Linked DNA regions of Homo sapiens: regions 2, 3, 4, 5 and 6 are each linked to region 1. The links are contacts of gene promoters, found by promoter capture Hi-C in blood cells and fetal thymus (Javierre and others, 2016). All regions are on one chromosome and are shown on one strand. The core of a region is centred on a gene start or on the middle of the fragment in contact, and the rest is flanking DNA. Distances in the headings are between cores, read along the strand shown.

What was found. The method cuts DNA at HindIII sites, captures the fragments that hold promoters and counts their contacts. A CHiCAGO score of 5 or more calls a contact.
Region 2: a contact is called between a fragment that was not itself captured here and the fragment with the promoter of ZNF852 in region 1, in 2 of 17 cell types (total B cells and non-activated CD4 T cells). The highest score is 5.2, in total B cells.
Region 3: a fragment that was not itself captured here is called in contact with the fragment with the promoter of ZNF852 in region 1 in 4 of 17 cell types (total CD8 T cells, naive CD8 T cells, non-activated CD4 T cells and 1 more); the score reaches 5.8 in total CD8 T cells.
Region 4: a contact is called between a fragment that was not itself captured here and the fragment with the promoter of ZNF852 in region 1, in 1 of 17 cell types (total CD4 T cells). The highest score is 6.7, in total CD4 T cells.
Region 5: a fragment that was not itself captured here is called in contact with the fragment with the promoter of ZNF852 in region 1 in 15 of 17 cell types (naive CD8 T cells, total CD4 T cells, activated CD4 T cells and 12 more); the score reaches 17.1 in naive CD8 T cells.
Region 6: a fragment that was not itself captured here is called in contact with the fragment with the promoter of ZNF852 in region 1 in 8 of 17 cell types (activated CD4 T cells, naive CD8 T cells, non-activated CD4 T cells and 5 more); the score reaches 7.8 in activated CD4 T cells.

Annotation. Positions count from the first base shown.
Region 1 is chr3:44,508,637-44,512,680 of GRCh38, reverse strand. ZNF852 (zinc finger protein 852) reads left to right here and starts at 2,064. Exons shown (of 4, transcript NM_001423469.1): 1 at 2,064-2,128. RefSeq lists enhancers at 1,610-1,669, 1,128-1,904, 1,905-2,681 and silencers at 1,890-1,939, 2,070-2,129, 2,140-2,299. The HindIII fragment of the contact is 19,774 bases long and covers 1-4,044 here.
Region 2 is chr3:44,979,231-44,983,274 of GRCh38, reverse strand. All of the region lies in intron 1 of EXOSC7 (exosome component 7), which reads right to left. Among named protein-coding and RNA genes, the nearest start is that of EXOSC7, 5.0 kb to the right of the region's middle. The HindIII fragment of the contact is 1,694 bases long and covers 893-2,586 here.
Region 3 is chr3:44,948,709-44,952,752 of GRCh38, reverse strand. The region is part of intron 2 of ZDHHC3 (zDHHC palmitoyltransferase 3); the gene reads left to right. Among named protein-coding and RNA genes, the nearest start is that of ZDHHC3, 25 kb to the left of the region's middle. The HindIII fragment of the contact is 254 bases long and covers 1,566-1,819 here.
Region 4 is chr3:44,931,759-44,935,802 of GRCh38, reverse strand. ZDHHC3 (zDHHC palmitoyltransferase 3) reads left to right here. Exons shown (of 7, transcript NM_001135179.2): 4 at 1,819-1,915; 5 at 2,604-2,685. Among named protein-coding and RNA genes, the nearest start is that of ZDHHC3, 42 kb to the left of the region's middle. RefSeq lists an enhancer at 1,213-2,040. The HindIII fragment of the contact is 2,602 bases long and covers 797-3,398 here.
Region 5 is chr3:44,910,729-44,914,772 of GRCh38, reverse strand. TGM4 (transglutaminase 4) reads right to left here. Exons shown (of 14, transcript NM_003241.4): 12 at 3,646-3,815; 13 at 3,367-3,503; 14 at 1-1,189. The coding sequence ends at 1,048. Among named protein-coding and RNA genes, the nearest start is that of TGM4, 38 kb to the right of the region's middle. The HindIII fragment of the contact is 3,807 bases long and covers 202-4,008 here.
Region 6 is chr3:44,880,634-44,884,677 of GRCh38, reverse strand. The region is part of intron 1 of TGM4 (transglutaminase 4); the gene reads right to left. Among named protein-coding and RNA genes, the nearest start is that of TGM4, 8.0 kb to the right of the region's middle. RefSeq lists an enhancer at 107-784. The HindIII fragment of the contact is 1,286 bases long and covers 1,726-3,011 here.

The DNA.
Region 1 (4,044 bases), core at 815-3,314:
AGGTTGCAGTGAGCCGAGATCACACCACTGCCCTCCAGCCTGGGTGACAGAGGGAGGCTCCGTCTCAAAATAAATAAATAAATAAATGAAGGAATTCCTAATGCTAAATGCCACATAATCAAACTGAAATTTTATAGAAGTATGTGAATCCCCTAACAGACCAGTTTTTCCTGCAAACAGGAGATTCATAGCAACCATTCAGAAAGGGCCCAGTTAACCCCAGTCAGCATAAGGAAGGCCCCCTCTGCTTTAATCCTTAAAAGAAAAGTAACCTGATGTTAATCAATCTATTTTTGCTATTGTTTGGTTCTCTTGTTCCCACCTTTAAAAACCCACTGTTCTGCCACATGCTGTTAGTCTACTTTATAGAAGTTTTTACTATTTTGTACCTGCTTCTCCAACTCATAATGTTACACAGCCTCTCCAGGTTGTAGCCCAAGAAGCAGCCTGCTCTTTCTCGTTCTCTCTCTTTCTTCCTTCTCTCTTTCATTCCTTTTCTCTCTTTCTCACTTCCCTCCCTCCCTTCCTCCCTTCCTTCCTTGGGTCTCGCTCTGTCGCCCAAGCTGGAGTACACTGCCCCAATCATAGCTCACTGCAGCCTCGACCTCCCCGGCCCAAGCGATCCTTCCGCCTCTGCCTCCACAGTAGCTAGGACTACAGGCGTGCACCACCAAGCTCAGCTAATGCTCTTTCTGGTCTGAGTTTTGACCCTCATCCTAACCTGTTGTTCTTTGAGTACACTCTGGGCCTTGATGCGTTGGGTCATTCCTGCTTTCCCAGGTGGTAACCGTTCCTGGGCAGGGATTTTAGTTTTCCTTGGAATCTTGCCCTCCTCACTATCCTGCCCACAACCTTCTACCCCTAGCTTCTGGGATCTCAGCTAGGAGCCATGCTATCCCCAACTCTCCCTCTACAGGGACGTGGGACGGGAGAGCTTTTATGAAGCACAGTAGTGAAAAGACCAAAAGATTTGGATTCAGTGGCTATTCCAGTTACTGACTCTATTTCCTTGGGCAACTCAAATCAATGCATGGCAGCCAGTGTGTTATGAGCTACCGGAAGTATACAGAAAAGTACCAGAAAAAATACAAGCATTATCATCAGTCGCTGTCAATTAAATAACTCTGTTACATTTCAACAGTGTTCGTAACCACTTGACATTGATGTATTTGTGTAATTTCTATTATCTGTTTTTCCCACAAAGCTGTAGCTCCATCCAAAGTGGGCAACTGAGTGTCTTGGTCAGTCATGTGCAGCCTGATGACCCTTGAACAGTTGCAAAAGTGCGCCTAGGGCTTGTAGCATTTACTTAAAAGGGGATAATAAACTCTCACGGCCAGTGCTGGGCTTATTGCCTTGTTTGGGAATTTCTCCATTCAAGGGTTTTATGTTTGGGGATGTGCTGGCCCTATTTTTTTGTTTGTTTGTTTTTTGAGACGGAGTCTGGCTCTGTCTCCCAGGCTGGAGTGCAGTGGCACGATCTCGGCTCACTGCAACCTCCGCCTCCCAGGTTCAAACGATTCTCCTGCCTCAGCCGCCGAAGTAGCTGCGATTACAGGCGCCGCGCCACCACACCCAGCTACTTTTTTTTTATTTTTAGTAGACACGGGGTTTCACCGTGTTAGCCACCGATCTCCTGACCTCGTGATCCGCCCACCTCGGCTTCCCAAAGTTCTGGGATTACAGGCGTGAGCCACCGCGCCAGGCCGCTGGCTCTATTTTCACCGCTAGCTTTGGATCCCTTTCTTCCCTGAAGGAAAAGAGGCCTCCAGGGCAGCCGTGCAGAACCGATGGGAGGGATGTAGGATAATACGCCAAAGCCGATAGAGTTCTGGAGCGCGCCTGGGCATCAGAGCGTGGAAGACAAGTGTCCGCGGAAGGAGGCGAAGGATGCTGGACAAGCCCCGCCGCCCGCCGCCCGCCGCCCGCCGCCCGCCGCCCGCCGCCCGCCGCCAGCGGCCCTGGGCCCAGGGAGAAGCAGAGATGTTGGCCCTCCCAGTTTCCTAGAGAGGCCGCAGAGGGCCCGGGGAGGCGACGCGCGTGCGCAACTGGGGAAGCTGGGAGGTAGGCGCGGGGCGGTCGGCTGCGGTGGCGGCGTTTGGATGATTGTCTCTCGGCGGCGGAGTCGGTGAGCGGCCCGGCGGGGCGCGGGGTGCGGAGCGGGGGCGGCTGTGCGTGCGAGAGTGGCAGGTGAGGCCGGGCCTGGAGGCTGCACCCGGGGCGGGGGTCTGGCCGTGGATCCCGCCCGGCCGCGCCGAGGGCATACCTCTTCGCCCCCCGGGCGTCTGGGGCAGAGAATCTGGAAAATTCCCGGTTTCTTCTGGCTTTATCTTTTCACCCAATTATGCGAATAAAGCGTACTTATTAGAGACAATTAGATAAGTGGAAGAAAAGTGAAAGTAGCCACCGTCCGGAAATCTTAGTCTCCAGGTCTCCTGACATTGAAAACATCTGGCATAGACTTCTCCCTTTTTCTTGTCTTATTTCACTTCCTGGCACCTGTCGCCGTCTAACATAGCATGTATTTGTTTATTGGTTATCTTCCCATAAGCCCCTTGCCAGGGCAGTGCTTTCTGTTTGCTTTATTAACTGCTGTTACCTTAGTGTATGGGAAATAGTAGGTGCTCCTAGAAGGTGTTTGTTAAATTAATGAAAGAAGGAATATCTAAACTGGGAGACAAGAAGAATTGACAGTTTTTAATGTCTTTTTTTTTTTTTTAAATAGCCCATTGCCAAGTTAAGAATGTAAGAGTGACCTTGAGCCTGGAACATTTCCTTGCAGAGTTAGAGCCCTCACAGCCTGTGCTGCTGCATTTAATGCCTTGTGTCTTTCAGTGTTTCAGGCTTCATGTGTACTCCTTTGTTGTGTTTAATCTCTTAAGTCAGTGGCCTTCATTCATTCTCTCAGCCTTCTGTATTTCACACCCCATAGGAGTGGGGAGGGTGGATTGAGATCTTTCTTCCTTACTAAGTGGGGTGTGTGCATCACACCAGCCCTATAGCTGTGGAGTGGATCTGCTGGGTGTGGGGGCTCTTTGCATTGCAGGAGGCTGGATCTTGTTCCCTGTTTCTCCTTTTGCTGTAAGTATACGCTGTACCTCTTGGGGCCTGATGTGGTTGGTATCTGTCCTCAGCGACCTCAAATCATGTGCTATCCCTTCCTTGGATGGCCTTTTAATCTTGGCAGCACAGCCTGGCCACCTGGTGAATAGTGGAACAGTCATGGTGATGCATAAGGATCTAGTATGTTCCTTTTAGGTGCTGTATGGTATTTCATCCTATAAAAATGCTACTTTTATTTAGCCATATTGATGGACAAGTAGGTTAAATCCAGTATTATGTTATTACAGAGAATATTTTAGTAAATACCTGTGTAAATGTCTGAATACCCGTGCAAGTGTTTTTCAGGGCAGATTCTTACAAGTTAAATTCCTGTAGCGTAAGGAATATGTCTTTTTAGTTTTACTGTGGACTTTCAAACTATCCTTCCTGTTGGCTATTACATTTCCACATCTATTAGTGGTTTGTGTTTGGTGTTTTTTTCTTTTGCTTTTCTTTTGGACAGAGATTTTTTTCATATTGATGTATTCAAATATATTCACTCTTTTCATTTTGTTGTCTTAAGAAATTCTTGGTTACACCAGGGTTCTTAGAGTCTTTATGGTTTTTTTCTTTTTTTTTTTTGAGACAGAGTCTCACTCTGTGTCACCCAGGCTGGAGTGCAGTGGCACAATCTTGGATCACTGCAGCCTCTGCCTCCTGGGTTCAAGCAATTCTCTGCCTCAGCCTCCCGAGTATCTGAGATTACAGGCGCCTGCCACCACATCTGGCTTTTTTTTTTTTTAAAGTAGAGATGGGATTTCACCATCTTGGTTAGGTTGGTCTTGAACTCCTGACCTTGTGATCCACCCACCTTGGCCTCCCAAAGAGCTGGGATTACAGGCGTGAGCCACCGCACCCAGCCTTTTAGCTTTGTTTTTTAAGTTTCTTTATTTTTTGTGTGATTTTACTTACTATTTTTATTTGCCTAGCCAATTGTCCCAA
Region 2 (4,044 bases), core at 490-2,989, 470 kb before region 1:
AAAACAACCCTGAGAGAGGTTACAGATAAGAATGGAGGCACCTAAGTTTCAATCTCCTGTTTGTGACAGAGTGGAAGGACATTTAAGCACAGACCTACTTTCCCTCACACCCAGGAAGCCCAGTCCTATTACTTCTTAATAGAAACTGACAAGTTGGCGCTACCAATCTGACACATCTGGAAGGACTTTAGACTCAAAGTGGTCCTCTGAGGTTATGTTAACCCCTCATTAACTTGCTTTGACTTGTCTAATACTCCAGATTCCTAAAGGAGAAGTGAGACTAAATTCCTTCCCCTACTAGAAGGTGACTGCCCCCCGCCCTTAGGAAAGGGGCCACATTTGGTCCAGCTTTGCAGGCTCGGGCCCATCACACAGCAGGCAAAAGTAGGTGTTGATCCTTGTTTGACTTTCCAACCCTGTTGAGTAGCCAGGCATTCCTCTGAAAGGATATGGCTCCATAACTCTGCATCCTGCAGTGTCTGGGCATAAGGCTTTCTGTGCCATGGGTCTGTAAACAGAAAGGGCAGAGAGCTAAAAATCAAGAGTCCTGAGGGCTGGCTCCAATTCTGTCATGGCCAGACTGAGCAACCGAATACTGACTGCTCAATCTCATAGTTGAAAACCAGGCTGAGGCCCTGATCTCCCTCTTCCATGCTATACCCCTAAACAATGCTTATGATGAAAGCAAGATCCACAGAAAAGAAATGGAAGCCATCAGCTGGGCTACAACTCCCTTCAACAGCCAAGAACATACAATAAAATGGCTTTCACAGGGTTCCAAGAGCCCTGTGGTAGGGTTCGTCAATTGCCATGGCCAGGTCTGAACCTATGAGGGCCAGTTTAATGTCCAGGTCATAGCCATAGCACTCAGTAGGCTGAACCTGGGAAAGCTTTATTGTGCCTAAAGCCCTGTAAAGGCCACATAACAGTCACCATCCATCCCCAACAGCCAGGACCAGGGGTAGGTGCCTGAACCAAAGGCATATAATCCAAAGGGTGACCAACTCTTTTTGGCGTGAAATACTACCAGACCAAACTGATTCTCTCATTGCAATCTGGTCTCTGATCTGAGAAACACTTGAGAGAAGAAAGGAGTTAAAGAGGAGCTGACAGGTCATGATATGGAGGAGCCCAGAGAGGCCACACGAAAGTAAAGGTATTGGGCAGAGGCAGATTCTACAAAGAAGGGAAGCTGGACAGCAAGTGGCTGCAGAGAAGGGATAAATCTTGGCAGAGAAAAGCAGAGATGTCACTAGAGATAAAGACAGACAGCCACACAGGCCATGAGATAATCCACGGAGCCCATGAGAGGCGGTACCTCAGAGCTGTCTGGGGACTTTCCAGCTCTTGCCACAGATCCCCCTTCTCTTTTTTCTTTTTCTTTCTTTTAAGAGACAGAGTATCTCTCTGTCACCCAGGCTGGAGTGAAATCTCCAACTCCTGGGCTCAAGCGATCCTCTGGCCTCAGCCTCCCAAGCAGCTAGGCCTACAGGCACACACCACCACACACCTAATTTTTTTTAGAGATAGGGTGTTGCTATGTTGCCCAGACTGGATGCCAACTCCTGGCCTCTGGTGATCCTCCCACCTCAGCCTCCCAAAGGGCTGGGATTACAGGTGTGAGCCACTGCACCTGGCCTATCCCTTTTCTTGAGATAATTGAAAAATCCCGATTCCTTCAAATCAAAAGAGGTTTAATTCTCAGGAGCCACAGGCTGAATCTTTAATGAGGTCACTATGAAGGCTGGGGATCTAGTGTGGATGGTTTAAGACAAAGTCACACTTCTGATGGAAAAACAAACTTGAAAGGGAGCCAGCATTTTTTCTGTGTTAACCACAGCCCAAGTGCTTGACATCTCTTATCTCATCATTCCTCATAACCCCATTCTACTTCCAGGTGCATAAGTCCCCATTTTACACAAGGGAAGCAGGTTCAGTTATGCAAGTAAAACCACTTATTGTAAATGGTGAAGGTGCCTGCTCAGTCTGACTCCAAAGCCTCATTCAAAAAGAGGCAGGAAACCATATGACTTCAGCAGGAGAGAGCAGAGATTTCTTTATCTCTGGTCAGTGGCTTACCCATGGGCCAATGTCTGGTGGCTGCCCCCAAATTTCCCAACACTTTATGATAATGTCCATTCTCAGGCCCCAGCCCCAGAGAGTCTGATTCAGAATGTTGGGGTAAAGCCTCAGAATCTGTATTTTGTAGGTGAGTAAAATGCACTTCAAGGCTTCAGAATCCCTGGGCTAAGAGGGAGGTTAGCAATGGCTTCTCATGGATGAGGAAAACACACATCTAGCCCAGTAAGCCAGAAAAGAGGATAAATCCTAGATTCTAAAAATTCTGAAGTCTGCTCCAAGTTCTGCATGGTATGGGCAGAGTAAATCGTTTATGATACTAGTAAGACAAAAGCTATACAAAGAAATGCAATATAGGGTTCTAAAGGAACTTATACTCAATGTGGGAAAAATGCAACCAAAACAATACAGCAGTATATGCCATATACTATTTAAGCTCTAGAAAAACTGGGGAGTGGGAGGTGTCAATTAGAACTTTCTCTTTCCCTTCCAGTTTCCCCACAAGCTTTTAGAGAAAGGGGGAAAGAAAAGGAGGTAGAGGAAGCAAAGATTCTCTCCTGCCTTGATCTCTGGATCCCTACTGAGGAAATGGAAGAAATGACTTTCACTGCAGCAGGAAGGTGGCCTCAGAGTCAAGTATGGGCTTTGCAATCAGACAGGTCTGGATTTAAATCCCAGTGCCACCACTCAATTACTGTGTCACCTTGACAAGCGACTCAACCTGCCCGAGCTCAGTTCCTCATCTATAGAGATAACATTTACCTTCAGAACTGTTGTAAATATTCAATGAAATAAAAATTATAATATGTACCTAATAAGAATGGGATATAGCCTTCAAAGACTGAAAGAGAACCTAACAGAAACCAATCAAATTATTTATCAAAATACCGATTTAATCCACCTTTTTGATTCTCTGTTCTCCCCTGGGAGAGGGGATCTGTTCACCAGGTTGACTCAAATTGTATCACCTAGACTCCCTTTGCTGGCTTCTGGTTGGGTTTGTCCAGTGGAAGATACCAGATCAGAGGGTGCCCCTCACCCCCAATCTAGTGGCCACATTTCTGATAGTGCCTGCATCTATCGAAGACTATGACTTATGTTGGGCAGCCCTTCCTCCACAGTTCCAGCTATCACTGAAATGTGGTAATACTGTTTCCTCCCCTGGCCCCTTTGGAATAGGGGCAGTAGCCACTCCCAGTAGTTGTCTTGGGGCTCCTCAACATCTCTTATTGGTTCCCTGAAACCCCCCCCATACTGCTCTAGAGTCCCATCATAAAAGTCTCCTGAACTACCTGAAGAGGGTTCCATTTTCTGCCAATAACTAAAATGATCCACCCTCCCTTCTCACAAACTGACTTCTCCCAAGTGTGACACATCCTCTAGTGGCCATGTTTGAGCCTAATTATTCTGTCCATCCTTTCCCTCAACCCCCTAAAAGAACTAGAGTTTCTTTCTCTTGGAAACATGAGTTCAGAACTGAACGAGAAGGAATGGTCTCTTTTACAGAGGAACTGGGAAGGAACCACATTTTTTCTACCACTGGCCCAAGAAATAGAAAACCAATCTGTAGGGAGACAAAAACAAAGCAAAGAGGGGGAAAAAAAAAACCAGCAGAGATTAGGATTCCTGGAGAAACACTTGCAGCCTTGTAATCCATACTGTTTTGCTTGAGCCGATGTGTTGGTTACCATTACTAGCAACTGAATCCTCAACACATCGTGAGGTTAATTTCAACTGCTTCTAACTATCACCAAAACAAGATGAAATATTCCCTGAAATAGTAAAAGAACCAAAGGCTGAAGGGAAAGTGACATCAGAAGCTGAAATGGACGTTACTGGACCAAAGGTGAAAAGTAAAACACAAAATGACTAGGACTATACAAGCAACAGGAGTTCAGGCAGGCACTGCTTAAGGTGCACTGCCGGCACTCTATAACCAACGCAACAAAAGTTTAGGAGATTTCA
Region 3 (4,044 bases), core at 443-2,942, 440 kb before region 1:
AGAAGCAAGGAGGTGCCTGGCAAGTTGGAGCGGGTGAGGGTTTGGTTGGTGCTTAAATGGAGCCCCTGAGGGTAGAAAGGAAAACTTAGAATGTTGCCTTTGGGAAACTCCAAATAGACCACAGGGAGGGACTGTTTACGGAGGGAGGTGGCACTGGATTGGTAGTCCAGAGCTGAGATATGGTGGCCTCAAGAGCCCTGCCCAGGAGCTTGGACTCTGGTCCATGGTCCCTAGGGAGCCAGTGAAGGTTTTAGGCCAGGGGAATAATGTGATCAGATTTCCATTTAAGAAAGTTTACTCTGGAAATTAGTTGGGAGAAAGGATAGAAGTGGGTTGCAGGATTTGAGGGAGAGACTAGAGGCAGGAAGACCTGGGAGATGCTCTAATAGTCTGGGGCAGATGATGATGGGCTGAACTAAGGCATGATGATGGCATGGAGGGGAGAGCATGGGATTCAAGGCACAGTCTGAGGCAGAATTAACCTGGTGGAGTGAATGGGATGTGGGGAAGAGGATTAGAGGAATTGGTGGTGGTTACTGGATTTCTACCCCAGGTGACAGGGTACATGGATATGCCATGGGCCAGGAAAGGGAGACTTGAGGGAACAGTTTGGGGAGAAAGCAGCAGGTTCCGTTTTAGCTGTGCACAGTGCCTTTGGGACAGCCAAATAGAGAGATCTGCAGATTCAAGAGGTCTGAGTTGGAGCTTGTGATTGGAGCATTATCACCGAGTGATGGTGGAAGTAGAGTTGAAGATTGTTCAGGAGAGAGTGCAGAATGAGCAGGGAAGGAAGGAGTCTTGGGGTGAAACCCTGAACCCTGAGGAACACCAGTAGCCTGGATGGGCGGGATTCCAAGAGGAGGGGAGAGGCACAGCCCCACAGACAGGGAGAAGGACAGTGAGGAGACCCCAAGGAAGACAAGGGCTAAGAATTGACTTTTGGATTTGGCCACAGTGAGTTGCTCAGTGACCTGGTGCGAACAGTTCCCTGGTATGGAGGGGACAGGTGCATGAACAGTAAGGGAGAGGTCAGCAGAGACATCAGGTGCACAAGGCTTCAAGCAGCTTAGCTATGAAAGGGCAGGGAGAGCTCAGAGCCTGCTAAGAACACAAGGAGAAAGCTTGGAGGTAATGGTATGGGGGCCCTGAGGGCCAGGATTGACTTGAGCCTCATCTTCCAAGACAGTGGGTACCCGTGAGTCCAGGGACAGTGAGGCAGTGAGATGAGGAATATGAGAAGGATTTAACCCTAGCAGCCTTAATTTGCTCCAAAATAGAAAAGGAAGTGGGCAGGGGTCAAGGAAGGTACTAGAAGTTTGGGCTACCTACTAAGGGGAATGGCTGATGGAGGCACATCACACCCTACCCCACCCCTAAATACACACAGGTGCACATACAAGTACCATTATGTTCCTTCTGCACTGAAAACTCAGAGCTCTGTGCAGAGAATGTGGAAGGAGTTCTGCCATGACTAGAGCAGAAAAGCTTTAACAGCTTCTACACACTTATTTTAAAACAGATTTAAATTGGTTCCACTGTGGGGCCAAATGTATATTTTGGAAGCTTTGTGATCTGCTTTTTATGAGCCTATAGATTTTTTAAAGTGTTTTTACTTTAGTACAAAGAGAAAAGACTTTAAGAATATGTTTCAGAATGTTGGTAGTACTTGTCTTGGGTGATCAAATCAGAGTGAATTTTTCCTTTTCCACTTTTTCATCTGTATTTTCTTTCTTAAAACCATGAACAAGTATTACTTTGGAAATGAGAGAGATAAAGTCAGTGCATTTTGACCTGCTAGGCTTGCAGCAGTGTGGAAGCTTCAAGACATCCCTGTGGAGTGTGTAAGAACGTGGGGTAGGGGGATAGGCATTTCTCAGTAATGCAAGCATGACAGCAGTGACAAAAATGTCTCAGGCCTTCAATCTCCTGCTGTCTGTCCAGGATTGTAAAGAACAAAGTTCCTTACCATGAACTAATAACAAAGAGCTCTGAAATCTGTGGAGATGAGCCCAAAAGAGCATAATATGCATTTTAAAAAAGAATGAAACAAAAAGTTGCCTGAGGCAGAGACTGGAAAGTGTATGCATCAGACTCCTCAGTCTTGGGGGCTGGCCCAGCTGCTCTCTGGCTCTGAGAGGTGGGCTCAGGTGGTTGGATGGGTGGGGCCCTGCCTGAATGGAGATGGGCCTTTTGGGAGATTTATGCAAATGGAGTCTCATTGTGGGGGCACATGTTTAGAAAGGCTGAGCTGCTGAATGATGTCTCTACTCAAGGTCTGGAATAAATAGGCCGTAATGAGAATACCAAACAAGAGCTCTGATTCCCTTTTATGGGTTAGAGGTTTCCTCTTGCAGTCTTTTATACAGGGTCCCCTGGGGCTTACAGTACATTCTGGTGGCTGGGACCTTCTTAAAAACTGGGACTAAACAAAAAAACCACCTGGGCCATAATTTAGGAAAACTCAAGCCTCGTTGCTTCATGTCCTTGGGGGAAAGGATGTCCCTTTGCACTTTTTCTCTTATACACATGACAATAGTAACTTCTAGTTGTGGTTTTCTGGTTTTAGGATCCACACAGTTGCCCAAACTCAATTACTTTTTACATGAAAGAGAACACAGCTGGGGACAATGGCTCACACCCCTGTAATCCCAGCACTTCAGAAGGCCAAGGCAGGAGGATCGCTTGAGTCCAGGAGTTCAAGACCAGCCTGGGCAACATAGTGAGACCCTGTCTCTAAAAAATTTTTGTAATTAGCTGGACATGGTGGCTTGTGCCGGTAGTTCCAGCTACTTGGGCGGCTGAGGTGGGAGGATCACCTAAGCCTGGAAGGTCAAAGCTGCAGTGAGCTGAGATCGTGCTACTGCACTCCAGCCTGGGCAACAGAGCAAGACCCTGTTTCAAAAAAAAAAGAAAAAATAATGAAAAATAAGGCCCTTTGGGCTTGAGACCCTGTCCTCTGCCTGGACCAGTGCCCTTCCCAGGCCCCCTTGGAAATCCACTTATGCCATGTGGTCTGGGCCCTGCCTCACCTTCATGAAACCTTCCAGACCCTGGCCCTTCACAGTGCCTCACTGGTGGCCCGTTGGATGTCTCAAGGTGAGACAATAATGACATTTTGGTTACAAGCCTCAGGAAAGTTGATCATATTCCTACTTTGGGTGGCTCCTCAAGTTTTTGTTTTTGTTTTTGTTTTGCTTGTTTTTAATGGATCATTTCCTCTTTGCAAAAGCCACTTGTTTCTAATAGAATATTTCATAAATATAGTCAAGAAAATTAAAAGTACCTGTGATCCTCCTACATAGGGTCTCACTATGTTGCCCAGGCTGCTCTCAAACTCTTGGCCTCAAGCTATCCTCCCACCTTGGCCTCCCAAGTAGCTAAGATTACAGACATGTACCACCACACATTTTTTTTCTTTTTTCTTATTTATATGTATGTGTATATGTATATAAAATCTGTTATAGATGTTTCCTGTGTCAATAATTGTGTATTTTTATAGCATATTTAATGTCCAAAACGGTATTCTAACTGGTATTGTAGATACCATGTGGTCCTTGCCCACCAAAATGTGTTTGCTTTTGAACTTTCTGTCATAGGCTTTTCTGACATCTGACTACATTTTGCAGACCAGATTTTTTTTCTACTGTTTTAACTTAAAAAAAAAAAGTAATGAAATGCTTTAGAGAGTTGAAAGAGTATAAAGGACCTCATTTCCACCCCACTCTCAGTCTGAGCCTGCAGCACTGAGGTGCGCTTGCATGTGGACAAGTGTTCCTTCAGACTTTCTCATTGCCTCCTTGTCTCCTGCTCCTTGTGAGCCTTTGGCTCCTCATCCTCAGTGGGGAAGCACGTCATTGCTCTGAATGACAGGTCAGCCAAGTGCTGCCCATCTCAGGAGTGAATAGGTCCTCACTGAGGCAGGAGAAGCAGAGGCTTAGCAGGGGAAGGGCTGGGGCCCAGCAAAGAGTCATGTGAAGAGCAGACGACAGGAGATCTGTAGGCCCACCTCTAGGACCGTGCTTGAACTGATTTTCCTCCCAGGTG
Region 4 (4,044 bases), core at 848-3,347, 420 kb before region 1:
CAGTTATCTCCAGTACCATTTATTGAATAGGGAGTCTTTTCCCCATTTACAAGCAGGTTTTTAAAGGGAAAAAGGAGCGGGCTGATACAAAGCTGTTTGACAGGAACTCTCATTGGCTTACAGAAATAACATTGATTAGTGATTGGCTGTACATTGTTGAACTATAGGGTGTGTGTCATTCCATGGCTACTTGGCATCAGTCTAGAGCCCACATAGCTAGTGGCTTCAAGAGGTAATTATTTGCTGGGCACAATGGCTCCTGCCTGTCATCCCAGCACTTTGGGAGGCCAAAGCAGGTGGATTGCTCGAGCTCAGGAGTTTGAGACCCACCTGGGCAACCCCATCTCCATCAAAAATACAAAAAAATTAGCTGGGTGTGGTGGCGTGCACCTGTGGTCCCAGCTGTTCGGGAGGCTGAGGTGGAAGGATTGCTGGAACCCGGGAAGTTGCAGTGAGTCGTGATCGCACCACTGCACTCTAGCCTGGGTGACAGAGGAAGATCCTATCTAACACACACACAAAGAAAGGTAATTATTTATCTCGAAGGGGGGTGTGAGACATGACTGCTGTCACAGGCTGTCTTATTTCAGTGCCTCTCTAGGCCTAATAATTAAATGGGCTCACATTCCTCAGATTAAAAAGTTTTTTTTCTTTCTCATGGCAAATGAGTCTTTCTAAACTTGAGCTTTGGGAAGCAGTTGCTTTCAAGCCCCTAGTAGTCCGGGACGCTTGTTTCATATTATTACTTTGAATTGTCCAAAGGGGGAGCGGGTTTGTGCTTGCTATCAAATAAGCTTGAAACAGGCTCAGCCCAAAAATTATCCCAATAATGTTAGAAATGTGCAAATTAATGAACTGATCTGGTCGACAGTTAAGCTCAAATGACTTTTTTTTTTTTTTTTTTTTTTTGGAGACAGAGTTTTGCTCTTGTTGTCCAGGCTAGGGTGCAGTGGCACGATCTTAGCTTACTGCAACCTCTGCCTTCTGGGTTCAAGTGATTCTCCTGCCTCAGCCTCCCGAGTAGCTGGGATTACAGGCATGCACCACCACACCCAGCTAATTCTTGTATTTTTAGTAGAGATGGGGTTTCGCCATGTTCGTCAGGCTGGTCTTAAACTCCTGACCTCAGATGATCTGCCCATCTCAGCTTCGCAAAGTGCCGGGATTACAGGCCACTGCGCCTGGACTCAAATGACTTTTCTGCTTGCTTGCTTTTTTTTTTTTTTTTTTTGGCTAAATGGATGTCATCTTAGAGCCAAAAAGTTCTTGGAGCTGGGCCTCCTGCTGTCCTTGACCTTGCTCTGAAATAGCCCTCTCTTCTGTCCTTTGTCCTTCCATGGTGGAGGTACCTGGCCCTCCCTGGTAGCACCTCATAGTGCTTCTAGAACTTCCACCCATCCCTTGGTGGTTTGGTCTTTTGGGGAAATAGGTAGCAGCCATTCTCCAAATCTTAGCCCACTTGGTCAAGTTTTTGAAACTGCTTCATTCTTTTTCTCTCGGGAAACCAAATCGTAAGCCCCATTACTTCAGGAGAGCAGGTTCTATCTTAGCCATGTAACCATGTCAGTTCCGTCCTATGTATGTGTTAAGCTAAGGGGCTTTGGAGAATGACTCTGTACCCGTTTGGAATGACTGCCACCCCTGGGGTCCTGACCCTGCCTCCCAAGCCCCACGTGACACACACCCAGCAAAACCCCTGGCAGTGCCCAAGGAAGCCATTTCAGAGGAGTGGAGCAGGAGCCATGGGTTCTGCGTTCCCCCGGGGCCCTCCCAACACCATGGGGATGCCCTAAAGGTCTGACCTGTGGGCTGTTTCAGTGTTTGTAAGCGGTGCATTCGGAAGATGGACCACCACTGTCCCTGGGTCAACAACTGTGTAGGCGAGAACAACCAGAAGTACTTCGTCCTGTTTACAGTAAGTCAGCTTGCAAATTCTGCCCTGCCCCCCATGAAGCAATGGAGCACTTTGTTCCTTTGAAAATTCTCAGCATTCACGATGTTCTTTGCTCAGAATACTGCCTGGCCCTGTAGATCTCTGCCTTCCTGCCAAAGATCTCTCTGGCTCAACAAGTGCCTGTACCTAAGCCCTTCACTTGAGCGTTTAGAAAATTGATTTCAGTTGATTAGCTATGAGCAAGGGCTGTATTCTGGGCTCCCATTCCAAGTGTTGGACCTAAGTAGCTCAAGAAGGCAGTTTGGGTGATGACCTCAAATCCTGAGGTGCAGGTAGGTGGAGTCTACTTAGTGCAAGGACTAGAAGGGCCCTCAGCAGTCAGCACCCTGGCTTTTCAAGGGAGGAGGTACAGCAGGCTTGAACCCCCCGCCCAGGCAGCTCATACTGCCTGGAGCCCAGGTCATGCCTGGTGACGGGCTTGCTTCTGTTCTGGTTCCACGTACTCCCGGAGGTGGCTGCTCACTTGACCCAGGGCTGGTGGGTAGACGGATCTGTAGGGAATCGCTAGCTGGCCCTCTGGTCCCTCCTGGTCAGGCCTTGTCCTGACTAAGTGTTCCTGAGTGGCAAATTCTGAGTGCCCCTGTCCCGGGAGCCCGTGAGGTCAGAGGATTCTCACAACAATGGTGTCTGCACTGGTTTCCTGTTTCAGATGTACATAGCTCTCATTTCCTTGCACGCCCTCATCATGGTGGGATTCCACTTCCTGCATTGCTTTGAAGAAGATTGGACAAGTGAGTATGTGCTGAGGCTTTCCTCCCTGCTCCAGGGTGGGTGTGTGACCTGAGTGGGGGGCGGGGAGGCTCTTTGTTTCCTTCATGGTGCCAGGGGCCAACCTCATTTTATTAAATCTCCTGAAAGCCTATGGACTGAACAGGGAAGAAATGGCAGAGACTGGAATCTCTCTTCATGAAAAAATGCAGCCCCTTAACTTCAGTTCGACAGGTAAAGTCATGAGTTGGACAGACAGACCCTCTGGACTGAGCGTGCCCAGGGAGAATGCAGGCCCCAAGCAAGCACAGAGGCCGGTTCCAATGCGTGGGAGCCATGCTGGGAGAGAAGTTTTGTTTTCTGTCTTTCCATGAGGCACTTAAATCAAAGATCATTTTATTCCAGTCTTGCAGAGATTCATTTTTTACTTTCTGGCTAGGACATGGAGTTTCTTTATTAATTTCTTTGGTTTTTGTGATGGTGTTTTTTAACTGCTTACACTGATAATCGTGAATTTACATTAAGATTGTAGATAATTCTTCCTGCTTTAGAGGCTTCCCACTGAAATGTGCAAATACTGAGGGAGAAACTCCAGCCAGAAGATTGCACAGATCCTGAAGGAAAACAATAGATGCTGGAGGAAAAGAAATAAGAGGCCACCTGCTGGGCTGGCTCTTTCATACTCACAATCTGTGAGACAAACGTCTTGAGCAAGGAACATTGTATTTCCTAAGCTTTTCCCTCCATGGGCCTCCTTTTTTTTATTTCACTGTCTTTAGAACTTTTGCTCTTCCTATACATGCTGACTTCTTCCCACAATTCTGGCATAAGTCAAATGGCAGAGGTCAAGCCAGCAGACAATAGAGATAGGAGAGGAGGGTAGGGGTGAGTGGGTATGTGCAGAACTTGCCATTCTGCATATCTAGGTGAGTCGCCAGCAAGTTCCTGATCACTTGGTGAGCATTCTGAAGTACATGCCTTCTGCTAGGCCTGGGGAACCAGATCTACTCCAGATGTGGCCTTGGTTACTTGACAAGGGAGTCCAATTAGGATATTTTATCATCCCAAACACCTCCCACCTCTCGTCAAGTTAACAGACTTGGGCAGGTGATAGGGGTAGCACAGACTGTCAGTGAGGCAAAATGTCCCTGTTGTTGTAATGGTGCTGGAAGGCACCATTGCATTAATGCCTACTGGGAGCCAGGAATGGCCCAAAGGGCTTTTTGAGCAGTGCATTGTTTCGCCCTTATAACAAGCCTGCAAGGTAGGAGAGATGCTTCCCACTTTGCAGATGACAAAAGCTGTGGCTCACAGAGGATGAACAAGTTTCCAGGATCACTCAGCTAACAAGAGGGTCTGTAGTTCAAGCCTAGGTCTGGAGC
Region 5 (4,044 bases), core at 856-3,355, 400 kb before region 1:
CTTTGAGAGAGGGGTTGGATGTACTGAACAGACAATAAAGAAGCCAACTCCTCAGAGCACCTTGCCTGGGGAGATCAAAGGATTCCATGGCTCCCCAAGTGACTGCATAAACCGCCAGCACATTTAAGAAGCTTATTGGCATAAAGAAAAAAGGACTCAGGGACCACAGAGTTTTCTTGAAGTAGAGTTTAATTTAAAGCTTATTGATCATTTGAGCAAATCTCTGGAGGGCAGAACAAGAAGGAGCAGGCTTCAGTTAACAGAAGCAGCCTTGAGTTGCCAGGATAGTGGATGGAATACCAAAGAAAGAGTTCACACCAGGGAGGAAGCAATGCCTTCTCCCTGGAGTCTCCCAAGGGGCAGCTTTAGAATAAGGGAAGAGGATTTGCTGGTCACCGTTTGCTGACATGGGTCTCTATGGTGAGTTCAGGCCTGAGGACAGGGTTGTCTGCAAAACCACATGGCCCTTGAGAAATGTCCTTGCAGATTGGGCTTCAAACTGCTTGGAGCACCAGGAGAGGGACTTCCTGGATTTCAGGGATAGAGAGAGGAGAATGGAGGCAATAGGAGGAGAATGCACTTCTATCAGGCCCATCCCAGTGCTGAGAGAGCACTCCAGTTGACAGGTGCCTTCAGGGCTGGTGAACCCATGGCCTGAAGATATGGCAGCTTCTCAAGGGTCGTCAGCAGGTGGCAGCACTGGGCTGCCCATAGTCTGCTGCTCCAGGGAGAGACTCTGTGGCTTCGAAATCTATGGATTTGAATTGAGACAATGGTGGCCCTGATTTTTGAGGCCATGACTCAGGAAAGGGATGGGATTCTGTGGCCTCGGCTGGTGTTTCTAACTGTAAAAGAGGTGACCCTGTGATAGCACAGGACCTGGCCTTGTGGGTCTGGCTGCTTATGGTTGTGTTGGCCTTTTTGACCTGCTGGCTCTTGAATCTGCCCTCATATAAGTCATCAAATTTAATCATCCATAATCTGAAAGCTAAGCACAAGGTAGGAAATGCTGAAATCTCAACTAAGGCTCCACAGCATCAGACAAGGCTACTTGGTGATGAGAACAATCTTCTGAGCATTAATCTCTTTCACTTGTTTGGAACTTAACTTGACGATAAATTTCTTGGGTCCAGTTTTTATTGGGGTGCATTTTATTTGGGATTGGATGGTCTCACCAGGCTGCACCGTCCTGGAAAATTCAAAGACATACGGACATACAATCAGCCAAGGATGTTATGGGAAGAGGGAGAAGATGAGTTGGGTGAGAAGCCAGGAAACTGAGCCTTAGCTCAGCCTCTTTGAAAAGTCCTGGCCATTCCAGGGCATGGCACAGTGTACCTGCACCCTGGGTGCTGCTATCAGTTTTCTCAGATGTAAAGCAAGACGGGTGAACCAGCTGGTTTCCAGAAGCTCTTCCAACTCTGACATTTCACAAATCTTCCCTGGAGTCTTGCCTGACTTTACTACAGATGTTCTTGTTTCATGAGTATTAGCAACAGTCATCTATTACATAAAATCTAAGAGGAACATGTATTTTATGTTGAATCCACATGCAAGGAATTGGCTAGCCCCTCACTACTCAAAGTGTGTTCTGGGGCTTCGCAATACTAGCTGAGCTTGTAGGAAACACAGAATCTGAGGCTCCACCCTAAACCTGCTGAATCAGAATCTACACTGTAACAATACTCCCCAGGTAATTTGTGTGCACATTAAAATGTGATAAATCGTGGTCTAAGGAAAATAGGAGTCTACTCATTTTTACTTGGAAGATTCAGACATCCTGTAAGAAACAGACCATCAGAAACCTCTCAGAAACAAAACATTAGAGTTCAGTAAAGTTTTTTGCTGGATATATCAGCATGCCAAAAATCAATTTCCATATAGTCCAGCAAACAATTAGAAAATACAATGAAAAATATTCCATTCATAAAAGCTATAATATTGATGCATCTTGGAATTAACCCAACTAATAACGTGCAAGTGGTATATAAAGAAAACAATATAGCTTTTCTAAAGGTGATAAAAAAGACTGGAAAAAAATGGGAAAATCTCATATTCCTAGATGGCAAGACACAATATTGTCATTTGGCATAATTCTCCCCCAAATAAATAGGTAAATTCAATGCAGTATCAATCTAAATCCCAGCTGTTTTAAAATTATATGACAAGATGATTCTAAAAGTGCTATAGACAAAAATGGGGGTGGGGTGGGGATTTGCCTAATACATATCAATATGTAGATATGATAATCATATAAAATTATTATAGGACTACAATAATTTAAGTGGTATGATGTTATATTAGAAGAAGACAAATGAAATAGCAAATTAAAGAGTCCAGAGACCCAGATATATATGGGAATTGACAGCATAATAAAGGCAGTGCTACAAAGTACTAGGAAAACCACAGACAAAGTTGGAGCTCCACATCACTCCACACCCAAAAAAAATTCCAGATAAATACCTAATTGTGTAAATAAAGCTGGAAATTCTAGAAAAAGCATAAGAGAATATTTCTATGCACCTAGGATGACATGAAATTCAGTATCCGTAAAGGAAAAGATTGAAAAATTTGACTACATTAAAATTTAAAAGTTCTACTGGTGAAAGACATCTTAGTGTTTAAAAAAATACAAACTGTTCGGCCGGGCATGATGGCCCATGCCTGTAATCCCAGCACTTTGGGAGGCCAAGGCGGGCAGATCACCTGAGGTCAGGAGTTCAAGACCAGGCTGGCCAATATGGGGAAACCCCGTTTCTACTAAAAATACAAAAATTAGCCGGGTGTGGTGGCATATGCCTGTAATCCCAGCTACTCAGGAGGCCAAGGCAGGAGAATCACTTGAACCTGGGGACGGATGGAGATTGCAGTGAGCCAAGATCGTGTCACTGCACTCCAGCCTGGGCAACAAAGTGAGACTCCACCTCAAAATAAATAAGAATCAAATTTAAAAAATTGAATACAAAACTGCTATAAAAAAATTCACAGCACATAACACTCTACTGTGTAAAGACACCATACCAATATGAAAAAATAAATGACTCAGTAGAAAAATGGACAAAAGTTAGGAACAGGCAATTCACAGGAGAGAGTCAATTAATGTAAGAAATATTCAACCTCACAAATAATCAGATGCAAAGTAAAGCAATGAGATTACTTAACCACTAGATTGGCAAGAATCAAAAAGATCTGTCGGTAGAGCATAAATTGATGCAATCTTTTCTCAAAGTAATTTGGCACTAGCAAAATGTATCTACATTTTGACCCTGTGACCCCATACTGGGAATTCACTTCTCAGGAATATGCACACATGTGCAAGATATATGTCCAGAAGCATATTTCTAAGAATACCTCAGGCAGACTCACCCATGGTCAGAGGTCTGTAGTGAGGAGATGCCCAGGCTTTCCAAAGAGAACTTGACGTCAGTCAAAGGGATGGCCAGGGTATTCTTGAAGATACAATTGCAGACAAGTAGCTGGCCAATTCTGCCTGTGTTAGGCAACTGTAGTAGGGTGGGGAGGAGAGATGGGGAGAGAAGATATGCATGAGCCAACCAAGGACCCTCAGGGTTCTTAGGGGCCCCGTCACACTCCATGGCCAACTTCCAGGCAGAAGGAGCCCTTTATGGCCTGCAGGAAGCTCACCTCTATAGAGAACTCAGGGTACTGGAAAGACGTGAATACTTCAGAGGCCATGATTTCCTTAGACTCCACAATTTCCGCAATGATGAAACCTCTGATAACTGGCTCATCATCTAATATAGCCAGGCTGTTGATGTAGGTCTTGGAGTCCAAGGTCAGAGTCACTTCTGATACTGCCAAAGAGTCAGGGTGGAGGGGAGAGGTCATTCATCATACCCCCCCAGTATGAGTTCTCCTCATCAAGCACAGAATTAGATTAACTTTGTGTGAATTGAACTGGATAACTTTGGACATGTCCCATACTCTCTTTAGAAAACAAGACGTTGGGCTCAAGATGGAATAATAATTGGCCAAGTTCTCCAAGCTTACATCCTGAGTCCATGACAGACATTACCCGTTGTC
Region 6 (4,044 bases), core at 1,119-3,618, 370 kb before region 1:
GATCTGAGGCCAAGACTACTTGCATTATAAATGGGATTTTTAAGGCCAGGTGCAGTGGTTCACGCCTCTAATCCCAGCACTTTGGGAGGCTGTGGGGGCGGCGCATCACCTGAGATCAGGAGCCGAGATCAAGCCACTGCACTCCAGAATGGGTGACAGAGTGAGACTCCATCCCCCCCAAAAAAAACAGGGGATTTTTTTCTTCAATGCTAAAGTGAAAAGTACATTCAGTAAAAGAAATAATCTCCACATGCATAATACACCCTTTTCTGTAGCACATGTATTTCTCACCATGTGTCTGTTATAATGACATTTCGTATTACCTCAGCTTGAGACCCAAACCCCTCCCCTTTATCTAAAATTCAAACCATTCCCAGGCTCATGAGTCATGAAGGGAAATGTGTTTTGGCTGCATGCTGAAACCACCTGGGGGTTGTAAAACTACTTATGTTCTCCCCCAGCGATTCTGATACAATTGTTCTGAGTGGGGCTGAGCCTCTATGTTTTCAAAGCTTTCCAGGCAATTCGAGTGTGCAGAGGGCATGGTAAAACACAGACTGCCAGACCCACCCTGAGTTTCTGATTCAGCACATCTGGGGTGTGGCTGAGAATTTGCCTCTCCAGCAGCTTCCTTGATGACGCTGTGCTGCTGGCCCAGGGAGGCACATATGGAGAACCCCTAGATTAGGAAGCCCCGCTGTGGCCTGTGAGGTAAAGTGAGGTGAGATGCAGGGACCTTCCTCTGCTCCTGAGGGCTCACCCACAGAGGAAACCCATCCTCTGCAGAGATCAAGGAGGCCAGCCATGGAAACTGGGCTTTCATGACTACAAAATAGGTGGAGTGGTCACGCCCACATCAGATGCCTACCTTGGGGATGCGGCCAGTGATGTGTTTGGAGACAGCACAGCTCATTCTTGCTGGAGTGGCTTTGGGATTGGGGTCTGGACAAGTGTTCTCCAGGAAGGCAAGTCCCAGCAAGTGGCCTTCCCTTCACACTGCGCACAGGGCCTGGGAACCTGCTGCCTCCAGCAGGGAGGCCCACCTGGCAGACAGACCTACCTTCCCAGGTGCTTCCCCTTCTTGGGCTGAAACCTTGGGGTGGGCCGATGGCTAGCTGGAGCATCTTAGCCCATTTGTGCCACTGTTATGGAATACCTGAGACTGGGTCATTTAGAAAGAATAGAAATTTATTTCTCACAGTTCTGGAGGCTGGGAAGTCCAAGATCAAGGCACTAGCATCTGGTGAGGGCCTCTTGCTGCATTGTAACATAGCAGAAGGCAGAGGGCGAGAGAGGACCAACTCCCTCCTTCAGGTCCCTTTAGAGGGGCACCTCATCTCATTCACAGGGAAGAAGCCCTTATCACCTAATCAACTCTTAAAGGCCCCACCTCTTAGTATCACCACATTGGCAACCCCTGAATTTTAGGGGGAGACATATTCAAACCATAGCATGCTGTCAGGAGCTGCAATCCTGAAAGGCTTCTTCATTTCCCTGGACAGCAGAGCTCCTGCTGTGGGACCCAGAGCCAATCGCAAAGCAATCACAGCTGGAAAAGGGCTTTAACAGTCCCTCCCATGTTCTGACTTATTCCTGCTCCCCCATGGACTGGGCAGGTGGGTGACCTGGGTTCCCAAGGGGTAAAGGTATAGGTTTTGGTACCAGGAAGCAGGAAAGAGCAGTTAAGAAATCCAAATCCTAAATGCAGTCATCTCTGTGGAAGCTTCTTAAGACCTTATCTCCCTGGAATGGTAAACATAGTCCCTCCCTTGGTGGCTAGTGTGCACATTGAGTGCCTGGCACATGCCTGGCACACAGTAGGCACTCGACAAAATGCAGGCCATCATTAATGTTAGGCAGATGGGCATATAGTGGGTTGAATGGTGGTCCCACAGAAGATATCTCCACCTGGAGCCTATGAATGTGACCTTATAGAAATAGGGGATTTTCAGGTGTGATTAAGGATCTTGTGATTATATTATCCTGGATTATCCAGGTAGGACCTAAATCCAAGAATAAGTGTCCTTATAAGAGACATGGAAAGGCAAGGGGAGGGTCATGTGAAGATGGAGGCAGAGACTGGAGTTACACAGCTGCAAGCCACAGAACACCTGGAGCCACCAGAAACCAAGAAAGACAAGGGAAGATTCTCCACTGGAGGCTTCTGCAAGAGCAGGACCCTGCGGACATTTTGATTTTGGATGTCTATCTTCCAGAACGAGAGAATAATAAATTGCTGTTGTTTTAAGCAGCCTCATTTGTGGTCATTTGAATGCCCTAAGAAACCAACATACAGCACATAACAGATGGCCAGTACTGGAGCCTCCTCCCTCACCCTCTCCTGGGCACTGCTCTGTGACCTGAGCACTGCTTAAGGCAGATCTGGGAGGCTGGAGGAATCCTGGAACTACAGGAAGCCACACTGGGGCTGTCTTTAAAAAAATGCCTTTGGAGTCACATACCTGTAATCCCGGTTACTCGGGAGACTGAGGTGGGAGAATCACTTGAGCCCAGGAGTTTGAGGCTGCAGTGAGCTATGATTGCAGCTGTGAATAGCCACAACACGCCAGCCTGGGCAACAAAGTGAGACCTCAACTCTAAAAAAAAAAAAAAAAAAAAAGCGTTTGTATTTTTATTTTGTAGCTATTGCACTTGGATAGATGGTCAAAATTGATATACCAGTTTAATGCTTGCAGTGTCATAAATGCAAGATGACCAGGGAAACCTGCAAAGAAAAAGTGTCAGTGGAATACAATGTCCTTGTTTCTTGCCACCAATGTGTGGGTTGGAGTTTAAATTATTTGAGTATTAAAAAACAAAAGTCTCTGCAATGGATAATTTTTGCTATAACTTTTGCCTATGAAGCCTCTGGAAAAAAGGAGACAACATAAAAGACAAGCAATCTCCAGATGGCGATATACTTTTGGAGTTTTAAAAAGCAAAGTTGCTTTTAAACTAAAATTAGCATTAGTTGCTAATGAGCTCTTGTGAAATTGTCAGCCTTAGAAGCTTATGATTTTCCAGTCTGTATGTATATTTTTGAGTGGGTCAAGTGGGACTCTTGAAATGACAAGAAAAAACGCACTTAAGAGGATCTTGGTGACTTTATAAGAAGAGGAAGACCTGAGCTTACCATGTGATGCCCAGCACCACCTTGGGACTCCTCAGGGAGTCCTCGCTAGGAAGAAGGCCCTCACCAGATGCAGCTCCTCGACCTTGGAGTCTCAGCCTCCATAACTGTAATAAATGAATTTCTTTTCTTTATAAATTACCTGAGTTTTAGGTATTCTTTTATAAGCAACAGAAAATAAACTAATACAATTTCCTTCTCCTTCCTTCTGGTAAGGCAGTTTGATTATTAAATACAGCTTTCCCCAGAAAGGGACTGACCTTTTCTAGGCTGCTCAATGAATAAATGATCAGGACAAAAAATAGTGAGAGGTTATTTAAGATTACTTTGATTTTTTTTTTTTTAATACAGGGCCTTGCTCTGTCACCCAGGCTGGAGTGCCGTGGTGTGAACACGGCTCACTGCAGCCACAACCTCCTGAGCTCAAGGGATCCTCCCACTTCAGCCTCCAGAGTAGCTGGGACTACAGGTGTGCACCATAGTGCACTTCATAGTGGTGATGAAGTCTTACTATGTTGCCCAGGCTGGTCTCAAACTCCTGAATTCAAGCGATCCTCCTGCCTCAGCCTCCAAAAATGTTGGAATTACAGACACGAGCCACCACACCCGAACTACCATTTTGAAAATTTTTGAAAATTCAGGATTTTGTCCTGACCAATTCCAGAATATGATGTGTTATTCTGGTTAGGTTGTATTAAAATATTTTTCTGTAAAAATGCTTTTGTCCCTCTTGCAAACAACCATTCCAGATGAAAGGTCTGGGTGAGAATAAGAGATTACTAAAAACAAAAAGAAAATAAAGTTATGATTGCTGAATGAATGAGATACACAGAGAAAAAACATGTCACAACTAATTGCTAAAGGAATTAAACACATCCTGTGTGACACTGGAGAGGACTCTTGGAAGACCTGCC